3 separate regions of the Homo sapiens genome follow, and all the other regions are linked to region 2. The links are contacts of gene promoters, found by promoter capture Hi-C in blood cells and fetal thymus (Javierre and others, 2016). All regions are on one chromosome and are shown on one strand. Each heading gives the region's core, a stretch centred on a gene start or on the middle of the fragment in contact. The rest is flanking DNA. Distances are from core to core; before and after follow the strand shown.

Evidence for each region. Contacts are between HindIII fragments. The CHiCAGO score rates a contact against its expected background, and 5 or more counts as called.
Region 1: the fragment with the promoter of ARHGAP19 here is called in contact with the fragment with the promoter of GOLGA7B in region 2 in 6 of 17 cell types (non-activated CD4 T cells, activated CD4 T cells, total CD8 T cells and 3 more); the score reaches 9.3 in non-activated CD4 T cells.
Region 3: a contact is called between the fragment with the promoter of PYROXD2 here and the fragment with the promoter of GOLGA7B in region 2, in 3 of 17 cell types (total CD4 T cells, non-activated CD4 T cells and total CD8 T cells). The highest score is 7.5, in total CD4 T cells.

What each region holds. Positions count from the first base shown.
Region 1 is chr10:97,290,409-97,295,355 of GRCh38, forward strand. It overlaps ARHGAP19 (Rho GTPase activating protein 19), which reads right to left and starts at 2,229. Exons shown (of 12, transcript NM_032900.6): 1 at 2,164-2,229. The coding sequence starts at 2,219. ARHGAP19-SLIT1 (ARHGAP19-SLIT1 readthrough (NMD candidate)) reads right to left here and starts at 2,265. Exons shown (of 15, transcript NR_037909.1): 1 at 2,164-2,265. RefSeq lists enhancers at 1-282, 1,041-1,799, 1,800-2,556 and a silencer at 1,901-1,950. The HindIII fragment of the contact is 8,887 bases long and covers 1-3,661 here.
Region 2 is chr10:97,847,133-97,851,407 of GRCh38, forward strand. GOLGA7B (golgin A7 family member B) reads left to right here and starts at 2,711. Exons shown (of 5, transcript NM_001010917.3): 1 at 2,711-3,183. The coding sequence starts at 3,172. GOLGA7B-DT (GOLGA7B divergent transcript) reads right to left here and starts at 2,666. Exons shown (of 3, transcript NR_108035.1): 1 at 2,534-2,666. The HindIII fragment of the contact is 7,033 bases long and covers 1-3,582 here.
Region 3 is chr10:98,412,351-98,416,598 of GRCh38, forward strand. It overlaps PYROXD2 (pyridine nucleotide-disulphide oxidoreductase domain 2), which reads right to left and starts at 2,832. Exons shown (of 16, transcript NM_032709.3): 1 at 2,659-2,832. The coding sequence starts at 2,785. It overlaps HPS1 (HPS1 biogenesis of lysosomal organelles complex 3 subunit 1), which reads right to left. Exons shown (of 20, transcript NM_000195.5): 20 at 3,848-4,248. The HindIII fragment of the contact is 3,850 bases long and covers 638-4,248 here.

The DNA of each region.
Region 1 (4,947 bases), core at 979-3,478, 560 kb before region 2:
ATCAAGTTGAACACCAGTCACTGGGTTCCACGGTTCTCTTCCGTGACCCACAGCTTCTAATAGAGCTGTAACACTCACCCCATGGCCCAAGATTCCATTCCTTGGAATCGGTGAGGCTGAGAACCCCAGGTCAGAGAACACTAGGCTTGCCACCATCCTGGAAGCGGCCCGCCATCATCTTAGAAGCGGCTGGCCACCATCTTGGGAGCTCTGTGAGCAAGGACCCCCGGTAACATTTTGGTGACCACGAAGGGGCATCCAAAGCGTTTGTCTCTTCCAGAATTGAAACTGTAAAACTACAAATCATTCTTCAAATGGAGCCCCAGATGCAGTCTATGACTAAGATCCACCGCGGACCCCTGGAACAGCCTGCTAGCCCATGCTCCGATGTTAATGACATCGAAGGCAACCCTCCCGAGGAAATCTCAACTGCACAACCCCTACTACGCCCCAATTCAGCAGGAAGCAGTTAGGGCGGTCATCGGCCAATCTCCCCAACAGCACTTGGGTTTTCCTGTTGAGAAGGGGGACTGAGAGACAGGACTAGCTGGATTTCCTAGGCCAACTAAGAATCCCTGAGCCTAGCTGGGAATGTGACCGCATCCACCTTTAAACACGGGGCTTGCAACTTAGCTCACACCCAACCAATCAGAGAGCTCACTAAAATGCTAATTAGGCAAAAACAGGAGGTAAAGAAATAGCCAATCATCTCTTGCCTGAGAGCACAGCGGGAGGGACAAGGATCAGGATATAAACCCAGGCATTAGAGCCAGCAACGGCCACCCACTTTGGGTCCCCTCCCTTTGTGTGGGAGCTGTGTTTTCACTCTATTTCACTCTATGAAATCTTGCAACTGCAAAACAAAAACAAAACAAAACAAAAAAGAGTGGAAAACTCTTCCATATCATATTTTATTTTATTTATTTATTTGAGACATAGTCTTGCTCTGTCACCCAGGGTGGAATGCAATGGCGCATCTGGGCTCACTGCAACCTCCGCCTCAACCTCCTGAGTAGCTGGGACTACAGGCGCCCGCCACCACACCCGGCTAATTATTGTATTTTTAGTAGAGACGGGCTTTCATCATGTTCGCCAGGCTGGTCTCGAACTCCTGATCTCAGGTGATCCGCTCCCCTCGGCTTCCCAAAGTGCTGGGATTACAGGCGTAAGCCACCATGCCCGGCCCCGTATGATATTTTAAATAACACACTCAACCACGCTCATCTGGGCTCAGGAAGAAGCCGAGTCACAAAGTTATTAGTTTCCCAAGATTCTTGGAATCTCTTATTCGGTACAAATGGAACCAAAAGACGCCAAACCGAAGTATTTTACTGAGTTACACTGAGGCAACGTAAATAAACTCAATCTATTGAATTACACCAAAAACAAAATTGTAATCAATTAAGACAACTTAGGTCTCAAGGCTAAGGCAACACCACCTCGAAATTCTCTCCTGAAAACGCTAAATCTCGGTGTGGCTGTTTAGGAAAGAACATCCTGTGGAAATAAAGTCATGATGTCCTGGACTACAGATCCCTCTCCCATCTGCTCCTTAGCTGTTCTACTAGGAAGAAGAAAATCTATTGCGTAGAGTTGTCATTATCGGCTAAACTCAGTGCTAGCTTTAAATGGATTGTCTTATTCAATCTTGACACTTGGAAATAGGCATCCTCACGTCCCTTTGCAGATGAAGAAACTGAAGTCGAGAGAGGTTTAAAAACTGGCCCAAGGACTCAACACTGTTTCTAATTGACACTCAAATCCTTGCTCGGACCTGAACGCACAAAGTGCCTCGGAGAAGATGTGAAGCGCTGTGTGCAACAGTGAGGAATTCGCTAACCAGCCCTGGACTTCCGTTTCCTCGCCATCAAGAGGTGTCTCGGCGCCAAAGCGATCAGCGCTGCCACCCCCAGCTGGACGTCTGCAGCCAGCGCAGCGGGAGGAGCCCCCTCGGGCACCGGCAGGACCGAGCGGGGGGTTTGGCTGGAGTCCAGCGCCCAGGCCCGACCCCCGCGCCTCAGCCCCCGCAGGCGCGACGATGAGAAACGCCGTGGGAGAAAGAAACAAAGCCCGAACCGTGCGCCTCCGTGACCCAAGGCAAAGGCGGCAGGACTACCAGCCCAAGGCCGCGTTTCCCAGGAAACTGGACCAAACTCAGCTCACCTCCGGCCGGATTCGCGGGCTGGCACCTCCCCTTCACTCTGTGCCTCAGTCGCCATCTTCGTCAGCAAACTTCTTTCACCGCCCCACCTTACGTCCCGCCCCCACATATTTGGATTGGCTAATATGTTTTCACCTCTTCCGTGCGATTGGATGACTCGACCGCCCCTCCTCAACCTGAACCGTTTAATATATTATTGGTCTATTCAAATGACTAACCGTCATTGGTCGTTCCCAGCCCTGGCGGAAAAAGAGGGAGGGGCGGGGAAGAAGACCCAGCCCCGAGGCCTGCCGGGAGTTGTAGTTTCTCATTTTGATGAACCCTTCCGATTCCACAGACCTTTAGGTTCAAGTCAGAAATCACCAGCCTATGCTCAAATTTTGTCCTGATATGTAAATCAGGGAATTATAGAACTGTCAACTTTGAAAGTGACTCATCACTTTCTAAAATGCAAGACTCCGTACCCTATATCTCAGCATCACACAATATACCCAGATAACAAACCAACTCATGTACCCCCTAAATTTAAAATAAAAGTTGAAAATAAATAATTTTTTTTTACAATTTTTTTAATTTTTTTTTTCTGTTGAGACAGGGTTTCACCATGTTGCCCAGGCTGGTCTCGAACCCCTGAGCTCAAGCAATCCTCCTATGTCAGCCTCCCAAAGTGCTGGGATTACAGGCATGAGGCACTGCACCCAGCCATAAATTAATTCATTTAATTTAATGTAATTTAATGCAAGACTCGTTCTCTGTCTTGACCCAGAGATAAATCCCTCAAGTGCAGGCAGGGAGTGGCAACCTAGAAGTACTTGCTTTTAAACGTATAGTTCAAAGCCTTCTTTCTTCAGATACTCAGCATAGCCCTAGCCATAGGTCATTTCTTTCTTCCTTTATTTCTTTCTTTTTTTTTTTTTTTTGAGATAAGGTCTCCCTCTGTCTCCCATGCTGGAGCACAGTACAATATTGCAGCATACCAACACACAGGGCAAATTTTTGTACTTTTTGTAGAGATGGGGTTTCACCCTGTTGGCCAGGCTGGAGTCGGTCATTTCTGCTTCAATACATTCACTCCCTTCCAACTTCCCAGAGAACCCACAGAGTTTGCCTTGTGATATGAACCATGGAACCAAAAGCTGCATGACTTTGTCCCAAACTAAACTTTAATCCTCAATGGTAGGAATAACCATAATTATCCTTGTCCTCCCTGCGGCACACACTTCTCCTAGGGATTAACTGAGGCAACATATGTGAGAACATTGTAAATTTTGAGCATTGTTGTTTTTTGTTTTTCCATATTGTTTTCCTATGCTGGACTTTTCTCGGGAATTTCTGTATTGATCCTTCTGATATCCTGCCACCTGGGGCTCTCCCTGCACTCTGCCTCCTTTTTACTAAACTGTACTGCACATGCTTCACTTTCTGAACTGTCTTAGGGCTTTTGCACATGTTGCTTTTTCTGGCTCGTCCATTTTTCCACTTTTTTGGCTTTCAGGTCGAAGCTTAAATGTCACTGGCTCAAAGATCTTCCATGACCCCCATTGTATAAATCAATTCCCTCAGTAAACTTTCACAAAGAACTCTGTACTATTCTTTCACAGTTCATATCACAACTCACAATTACATAGTCATTTGTGTGACTATTTATTTCATGTGAGGGTTCCCAGCTAGGCTTCCTGCCACAAGTGGGCAGAGACTATATTTATTTTGCTCCCCACAGTTTCTGGCACATAATGGCTGTCCAATAAATATTTTTGAAAAATATAAGCAAGTCCTCAAACTATTATATCCAAATAAAAAATCAAATCATATACTCTAATAGATTTTTTTCAATTGATGAATTAATACTAAAAGTTTGATAAGGGCTAGGCACAGTGGCCTACACCCATAATCCCATCACTTTTGGAGGCTGAGGCAGGAGGATCACCTGGGCCCAGGAGTTCAAGGTTAAAGTGAGCTATGATTGTGCCACTGAACTCCAGGCTGTGCGACAGAATGAGACCCTTTCTCTAAAAAAGAAAATAAAAGTTTGATAAATGTGTCCAAATAAAATTGCATTTAGTTTGATGTTTTTTATGTTTTTTGTTTGAAACAGAGTCTCACTCTGTTGCCTAGGATGGAGTGTAGTGGCATGGTCTCCACTCACTGCAACCTCTGCCTCCCGAGTTCAAGCAATTCTCCAGCCTCAGACACTCAAGTAGCTGGGATTACAGGTGTGTGCCACCACATCTGGCTAATTTTTGTATTTGAGTAGAGATGGGTTTTGCCACGTTGGCCAGACTGGTCTCGAACTCCTGAACTCAAGTGATCTACCCACCTAGGCTTCCCAAAGTGCTGGGACTACAGGTGTGAGCCACCATGCCCAGTCTTATTTAGTTTGATGTTTAACAAATCATGTTTATTGAGCAAATACATGGAAAGAAACATAAAATTTAGCAAACGTATCAGTGAAATTTTTCATTGAACCTCAGACAGCCTTAGAAAATCCAGGCTGGGATCACTTGAGCCCAGGAGATTGAGACTACAGCAAGCCATGTTCATGCCACTGCACTCCACCCTGACAGAGCAAGACCCTGTCTCAAAAAAACAAAAAACAAAAAACAAAAAAAGAAAAAGAAGCCAAGTGTGATGGCTCACGCCTGTAATCCCAGCACTTTGGGAGGTCGAGGCAGGTAGATCACTTGAGGTCAGGAGTTCAAGACCAGCCTGACCAAAATGGTGAAATCCCATCTCTACTAAAAATACAAAAAAATAGCCGGGCATGGTGGCACACACCTGTAATCCCA
Region 2 (4,275 bases), core at 1,461-3,960:
AGCATATGGGCTGGCACATGGTAAGTGCTCACTAAATGTTAGCTACTAAAAATGAAAAGTTCTGGGAAAATTTTTGAGGGGTCATCGCTATTAATGTGTTTTAGGGGTGACAAACTGTTCTAGAATATTAGATAATATGGGCATTTTAAAAGCATGATAATTGGCTGGGTGCGGTGGCTCATGCCTGTAATCCTGGCATTTTGGGAGACTGAGGTGGGCGGATCACCTGAGCTCAGGAGTTTGAGACCAGCCTGGCCAACATGGTGAAACCCTGTCTCTACTTAAAATACAAAAATTAGCTGGGTATGGTGGTGCGTGCCTGTAATCCCAGCTACTTGGGAGGCTGAAAATCACTTGAACCCAGGAGGCAGAGGTTGTAGTGAGCTGAGATGGTGCCACTGCATTCCAGCCTGGGTGATAGAGCAAGACCCTATCTCAATAAAATAAAATAAAATAAAGCATGAGAATGGTGTTGTGCCTAGTTGGGATAACGCTTTTCTTCTTGGGAGATGCATGGTGAATTGAAGTACTTACAGATAAAATCTCATTGAAGTACTTACAGATAAAACCTCACGATGTCTGTCACCTTATTATTATTATTATTATTATTATTTTTGAGACGGAGTCTCGCTCTGTCACCCAGGCTGGAGTGCAGTGGCGCAATCTCGGCTCACTGCAAGCTCTGCCTCCTGGGTTCATGCCATTCTCCTGCCTCAGCCTCCCCAGTAGCTGGGGAGTAGCTCCCCAGGTGCCCACCACCACGCCCGGCTAATTTTTCTGTATTTTTTAGTGGAGACGGGGTTTCACCGTATTAGCCAGGATGGTCTCAATCTCCTGACCTCATGATCCGCCCACCTCGGCCTCCCAAAGTACTGGGATTACAGGCGTGAGCCACCGCGCCCGGCCACGATATCTGTCACCTTCTGATAATCTAGGCAAATATAGCTCTGTTTTCATATCTATCAATAAAGCAAATGTGGCAAAAAGCAATTGTTGGAGCTAGGTAGATGGCATAGTTTATTGTACTATTCTTTCAACATTTTGGTATGTTTAAAAATGTCAAAATAAAAGGTTGGAGAAAAAACAAAAGGTCCTAGAAACAGTCTAGTGAAATCCAACACTCACATTTTACAGAAAGAGAACCATAAGCTCAGAAAACAAGACAGTTGCTCGAGGTTATACAGCTGGAAAAGCCTGGGCCAGGTCTCTTGGCCGCCAGGTTCTCCCTGTGTGTGGGCTTCAGACTCTCAGGCAGCAGTGAGCTGCAGAGGAGCACACCCCACCACCCCTCAAAGAGACCAAGGGGTATTATGGGTATGTAAAAAGGCACTTGTGTTGGTGTTTCCTTTTTTTTATGTCTATTTTATTTATTTATTTATTTATTTATTTTTTGAGACAGAGTTTCGCTCTTGTCGCCCAGGCTGGAGTGCAATGGTGTGATCTCAGTTCACTGTAACCTTTGCCTCCCGGGTTCAAGCAATTCTCCTGCTTCAGCCTCCTGAGTACCTGGGACTACAGGCGGGTGCCACCATGCCTGGCTAATTTTTTTTTGTATTTTTGGTGGAGATGGGGTTTCAGCATGTTGGCCAGGCTGGTCTTGAACTTCTGCCCTCAGGTGATCCACCCGTCTCGGCCTCCCAAAGTGCTGGGATTACAGGTATGAGCCACTGCTTCCGGCCTTATTTTTATTTTTTTAAGAGACAGGCTCTTGCTCTATTGCCCAGGCTGGAGTACAGTGGCACAATCATGGCTAGCTGCAGCCTTGAACTCTTGGATTCAAGTGATTCTCCTGCCTTAGCCTTCTGAGTAGCTGGGACCACAGGCACACATCACAACGCCCGGCTAATGTTTTCATTTTTTGTGCAGACAGGGTCTTGCCCAGGCTGGTCTTGAACTCCTGGGCTCAAGCAATCCTCCCACCTCAGCCTCCCAAAGTGTTGGGATTACAGGTGTGAGCCACTGCACCTGGTCTCCTTTTTATTAAACAAATAGATCATTTAGTTGGAATTTATGATGTCAAAAGTGCGAAGGTGGCACCAGAGCCAGACCTGCCATCCTTGGAGAGTGAGCATACCGGTTTGGCACCATCTGCTTGTGGTTTTTGAGTGGTGGTGGTAGTGGTGGTGCGTGTATGTAAACTCGGGTTGCAGAGGAGAGAGGGAAGAGTAAAGGGTGGGGACCAGGTCCAGGAAGAGCAGCAAGGAGAGACTGGCTTCAATTCTGGAGCTGCCTGAAAGAAGGGACCCCAGGCTATGGCTGAGAACGAAATGTGGGCACGTATTTAAAGAAAGGAAATGATTCTCTGCGGTCGGCAGGATCTTTGTCTAGCTAGTGGGGTTCCAGGAAGTGCAAAGGAGAGGGGAAAAGAGGGGCCGTCCGTGCAAGCCTGACTGTGTGTATATGGGGGGGGGGCACACAGAGAGGAAAAGGGAGAGAAAGAAAAGAAATTATTCTAAAGAGGAAGCTGGGGGCGGGGCGAGGGAGGGGTAGAGCCGGGGCACTGGGGGTGGCTGGAAAGGTAGAGAGGCCTCACCTGCGGGCCTGCGAGCGGCTCGGGAGCGGTCAGCCTTGCAGGCTGAAGCGTCTTGCCCCGGAAAAATTCCTGCCCCACTGTCCTTCAGGCTGGATGTCCCGGGGGCCACGGAAGCGAGCGCAGAGCTCCGGGGCTCTCACGAGGGGGAGGGCAGGAAGGGGAGGCGGGGCCTCGCGCGGGGCGGTAGCCGAGCCTGTGGCCCGGGCGGGGCTCCTCTCCGGCGGCGCCGGAGTCTGGGGGCCGCGGCTTCCCCCTCCCGGCCAGCGGCGGCTCCTGGCCCCTCCTCCCCCGGCCGCCCCCATCCCCGCCGCCGCCGCCGCCAAAGCTAAACCCGGCCGTTGCCTGCAGGAGCCGCGGCAGCGGGCGATCGGGCCGTGAGGAGCCTCGGGCGCGGCCTCGCCTCCCGGGCCCGGCGCCTGCCTCAGCACAGCGGACAGCGCCGCGCCCCTTGCCTGGACCCAGCCGCCCGCCCGCCCCCGGCCCACCTGAGCCCGGGCCCGCGGCGCCCGCATCAGCACTGCGGACAGCGCCCCGGGCCCCAGCTCGCCGCCACCGCCGCCGCCCACCTGCTCCCGGGGTCAGCACCGCGGAGACCCCCCTCGCCCGGCCCCGCGACAGCCTCCGAGCGCCCCCGGATCATGGCCACCGAGGTAGGGGCGAGCGCCCCACCCGCAGGCAGTGCCCGATTGCCGCGGGACCAAATGCCCTAGGGGTGGGCTGGGCAGGAGTGGGAGGCGGGAGTTGGGGGTGGGATGGGGTGATTCCCCAGGTCAGGTCTGGAGGGAGGAGGTAGGGGCTTAGTGAGGGCTCATCTCCCCCTTGCGTGTCAATCTTCCCCTCGCCCCACCTGAGCCCCCAAGCTGTCCGCGACACTTGTTGGCATTAGCGCCAGGGTTGCTTCAGGGCCCCAGGCTGGGGTTTCCCCTTCCCTGGACTTCACAAGTCCTGAAACCGCTTTCCTAGAGGGTTGGAGACGCGTGTGTGTGCGTGTGTGAGGGGAGGGAAGGCGGCTGTCCGCTGTTGCTATGCAGTCAGCTTCTGAACCCAAAAGCTTGGCTAAGGGATGACAGACTTACCTCTACATCCGCATTTCCTTTGCGGGAGGGAGGGGACAAAGACATCCTCAGGCTGAGAACCCAAATGGTTGGTCTCCACTTTTGCATATCACCCTTCTTGCTTTTTTACCCCATTCGAGTTTTTTTTTTTTTTTTGTCCCAGGGTGTCCAGATTTCCCCTCCATCTGATGGGAGTTTCTGCCTTCTTCAAGGTGCACTGATAGGTGTGTCACCTTCAAGCACTTGAAGGCTGAACCACGGGGCCTGTTAGCTAAGGGCAGAATCTTGGTATAATGCTTGAGGTCGAGGATTCCCCCCTCTACCCCTAGGGATTGCCCTTTCCCCCCTCATTTCAGGAGGGAGATTGGGCTCTTTATGTTCCCACTTTATACATGATAAAGGTGATGTGTGGAAAACGAAAGGACTAATTTGCTACTCCACACAGCATGTCAGCAGCAGAGCGGAAAGTTTTTGCCTTTGAATTTTTGGAGCGAAACTCAGGACATCAGGGTCTCCCCAGTTCTGATGTTGACTTCCTTTGTGGTGTCTCCCCATTTCCAATCCAGCTGGCATACACTGGGGGAGAGCAGAGGCCTGTGAATGATTCAATGCAGTGCTTCTGGGCATCCTGGTGAGCAGTGTGACATTAATACCAAGTGTGGCTGTTGTTATTCCACTCAAGTTTCC
Region 3 (4,248 bases), core at 1,582-4,081, 570 kb after region 2:
TGCGGGCTCTGCTAATCCCCAGACCTGCCTCAGGGGCCCCATAGCAGGCGCCTGGGCCCTTGAGGAGCTGCTCTGGGCGTGGGCTCTGCAGCTGCCTGCATCAGGCAGTGTTGGTTGGGTGGATGTGCTGACCTCTGGGAGACACCTCCCGCCCTCAGAATGCTCGTCACCAGGTATGGGGCCAGGAATCTCCATTTTAACAAGCCCCCTCAGTCACTCTCAGGCACATTTAGTCAAATGACTAAATGAGATTCATCTTCAAGGTGGCGGCCAGGTGCCAGTGTGCCTTCAGGGACTCAGAGGTAACCCTTGTCTCAGAAGATGCCGTTCTGTTCCTCACTGAGGCCCAAGATGCCTTTAAACCAGGCTTTATGGTATGTTTAGCAACTAAAGAAATCATGTCAAGGAAAAGCTCACACACTGAGACTCACTCGCACTTGTAGGCAAGTCACCAAGGCAGCTGGTGACCTAAAGTCAACCTTCCCCATTAGGAGACAGCAGGGTGAGCTGTGGCTGAGCACGGAAGGAGGCAGGGGGCTTCTCTGAGGCTAAGTGAGGTGCTGGAGATGGCTCCCACCAGCCCGGGGAGTTTGTGAGCCGGCTGTCAAACAGCCATTGATATAAACTAAATTATATAAGCTTACAATTAAATAAATTAAAAACAAAGGTAATAAATACTCAAAACACACTACCTCCTATTTGTTTTACTACATTTGACTGTTGCCCATGCCCTGGCAGTCACTGGCCTCTATGTACATATCTGCATGGTGGACACACTATACAATGATGTGCTACTGGGTATCTCTCCTAAATCACATTGAGCAACCTCATCTTGGTAACAGAAAAGGCTATGGTGGGAGTATTTACACCACTGTCATCAGCAAATATTACACAGAAGGGCTGAATTTATTTTTTGTGGTCAGGCTTAAGAAAGTGATGGGAAAATGCTAATAATGCAGATTAAACCTAACAGTGTTAGCTGTTATAGCATGAATAAATAGCACAAAAATTGAAGGAAATATTCTAGTATTAGAACAATATTATCTTATTTGAGTAACATCATTCCTGTCATTTAAAGAAGGAGGCCGGGCGCAGTGGCTCACACCTGTAATCCCAGCCCTTTGGGAGGCTGAGGCAGGTGGATCACAAGGCCAGGAGTTTGAGATCAGCCTCGCCAACATGGTGAAACCCCGTCTCTACTAAAAATACAAAAATTAGCCGGGCGTGGTGGTGGGCGCCTGTAGTCCCAGCTACTCGGGAGGCTGAGGCAAGAGAATCGCTTGAACCCAGGAGGCGGAGGTTGCAGTGAGCCGAGATTGCGCCGCTGCACTCCAGCCTGGGCAACAGAGCAAGACTCCATCTCAATAAATGAATAAATAAATAAAATAAAAATAAATTTTAAAAAATAAAGGAGTAAGGTTGGGACATAAATCTTTGTTGTTTCATTTGTTTCACGATCATCCTACTCTTTACAGAAAATATGGAGCACCGTTCTCTTTGGAGCTACCCTCATTTGTCATTTGCAACTATAGGTTGGCTACTGAGTTTGGCAAAAATCAAAGAAAGCCTTTGGTAAGAATCACTCGGGTAGACTGCATTTAAATTGAGAGTATTGTATCTTTATTTGTAAAATTGTGTGCAGTGTATCTTTTATTTCAATATTTAAAATAAGCATGTGTATATGTGTATATATATGTACGTAACACATATACATATATATACACATATATGTGTGTATATATACATATATATACATGTACACACACACATACATCACACATTTTTCCCTGGAGAGGTGAGTGTTGAGTATCTACCAGCTCGCAACTGCTCTAGTACATATGAAAATGAAGGCATGCCCTCAAAGCTGCATGTTGAGTGCCGTCTGCTTTCGGTCCCGTCATTATCTCTGTATAGACCCAGTTGGCAATCATGCATTTGGGGCCCTCTGCAAGTGTGAAAGGAAGGCACTAAGGAAAGACCACCTGGTCCTGGGCCTGCCTCTTCCCCTAGCACCCAGTAGACTGTGATACTCTGAGCCCAGGGGTTGGCAAAGTGTGGCAGATCACTGCAGATCCCCAAATGTCCCAGAGCTGCAAGGCAATGGGGTCCATCTCCCTCTGCAGACACGCAGTAGGAACTCTGGGACTCAGTTCTGTTTTATCCTAACTGGCCTTTATGAAATGACTGCAGTTTCTTGTGACGAGGGGTGGCCTCAGTGGTAAGGTAGTGGTGACCAGAACTCAGGGCACTGAGGGGGCGGGGTGCTGGATTTCACTTGTCTGTTGGCCCAGGGCTCTTTCCAACCCTTACAAACCATAGGCTGAGAATGTGGTGGAAACTAGGTCACTTTGCAAGAGATATAGGGAAACCCCTGAGCTCACCTAGTCTTCCTGTCATTCTCCATGGGAAGATCCAAGCCCAGAGAAGGCAAGCATTTGCCCCAGGCCACACAGCAGAGCCAGCACCGGAATCCCAGGTGCCTGCCTGCCAGATGGAAGGGCTTTCCATTGCAGCCCCTGCTAGCGTATAAACTTCTGGCTGGGTTATGCCAGAGGAGAGAGCAGTGGGGCTTGGCTCCCCCTCCCCCTCCCCACCAAGCTCTGAGCAGGGCTGTCTTCCCGCCCCTCAGCTCTGGCCCGGCCTGCTTTACCACTTTACCTGCTCCTATCACCACCGCATCATACTCAGGCTTCAGACCTCCCCTGGCTTCCGTGTTATCTCGTCTCCACGCCGGGAAGGGAGAGGCGGCCACAGCCTTGCAGAGACCTCGGCCACTTGCAGCCATTTCTGCCCCAGGCTGGGCCTTGCTAGGCAGGGAGTTTGCTAGCGATTGGCTTTTGTGCTGCCCTAGGCACGGGGTGGAGCAGGGAGGAAGCAGGAAGAGGAGGAGCTGCAGTCCCCCTCCAGGCCCCCTCCACCATGCATTCTTGGCCACAGGCCAGCCTCCTGCTGCCCTGGGGCTGTGCTGGGCCGTCGGGAGTGTTGCCTATTAACCAGGCGGTGTCACCTCCAGGATGCAGGGGATAATGGCAAAACTGACAATCCACTGGGGTTCCTATGTCAGGCTGGCATTGTGCTGAACCCTGTAGGCAAAACTCCCCATTTTACAGATGAGGGCGCTGAGGCTGCGGGGTTAGGGAATGAGTGGTGGAGGCAGAGTGGAGCTCGAAAGGGCCCTCTCCTCCCCTGTGCATCTACCTTCTCAGTCAGAACTGAAACGCCTGGGATGGCAAGTGCTCGTGTCAGACTCTGCTCCAACTCCATGCTGAGTCTGCCAGTGCAGAGTGGTGATGCCTCTACGCCCACAGGAGGCGCCCAGGGCGGCCATCTAGCGTCACCACGACCAGGGCCTTCAGACACCGCAGAGGCAGCTGTGTCTGTCGCTGAGGAGCACTGGAGTCCTCTCCTAAATGCTCAAACACAAACCCACAACGAGGGCTTAGGGGCAAGTTCGCTGTCTGTAATTCTCTGGTGTTTTAGTTTTGAAGGCCTGGCCAGTTCTCCTCTTTTGGCACCTTGCCCATTTTCCAAGAATCCCCAAGGATTCGAGGTCACATCTGTAAATACCTCCAGCTAAAGTTCTTTCTGACCCTCCCTTAGGCCTGCCTTGAATTAGGAGCCCCTTTGTTCTCTGCCCATTACTTAGCAGAGTGTTCCCCTAGGAGGAAAAAACCCCTTGGAGCGGAGAGTTCCTGCACTGCTCTGATATCGCAGTGTGACGGAAACCTGCTATTGGTAACGAATCTCAGAACTGGGAGAGTATGTGGAGATGATCCTAAGAGGGGGTTCCGAGGACCCCTCCACACACCATGGACAGTTACCCCGCATGTGAGCATCTCTGCTAAGATCTGATTCAGGATGTTCACTCCTGTGTTATTTATTATATAGAAAGATCAAGGGGACTGGTTAAACTAGACATATCACATCCAGCCGCTGCTAAAAACTAAAGGGAAATAGTAGGTGACAAAAGCAGGGGTCCTGAACAGTGGTGGGCTCAGGGGATTGGAGTTTTTTCCTTTATGTTTTTCTGTATTTTCCACAATCCACGCTTTTCATTGCCATTCCATCAGATGATGTTAAGGAGGAACACAGATCCAGTCACCTGAGGGGATACTTCCTCACTGCCACCTTCTCAGGGTTTAGACCAACATGTGGGTTCTAGTTCCCCCAGCCCCAAAGCTGTTCCCTGCAAGGAAGAGATCAGTCTTTGAGCAAATTTTGGCTCAAGACTAAAGACACAGAAGGCGA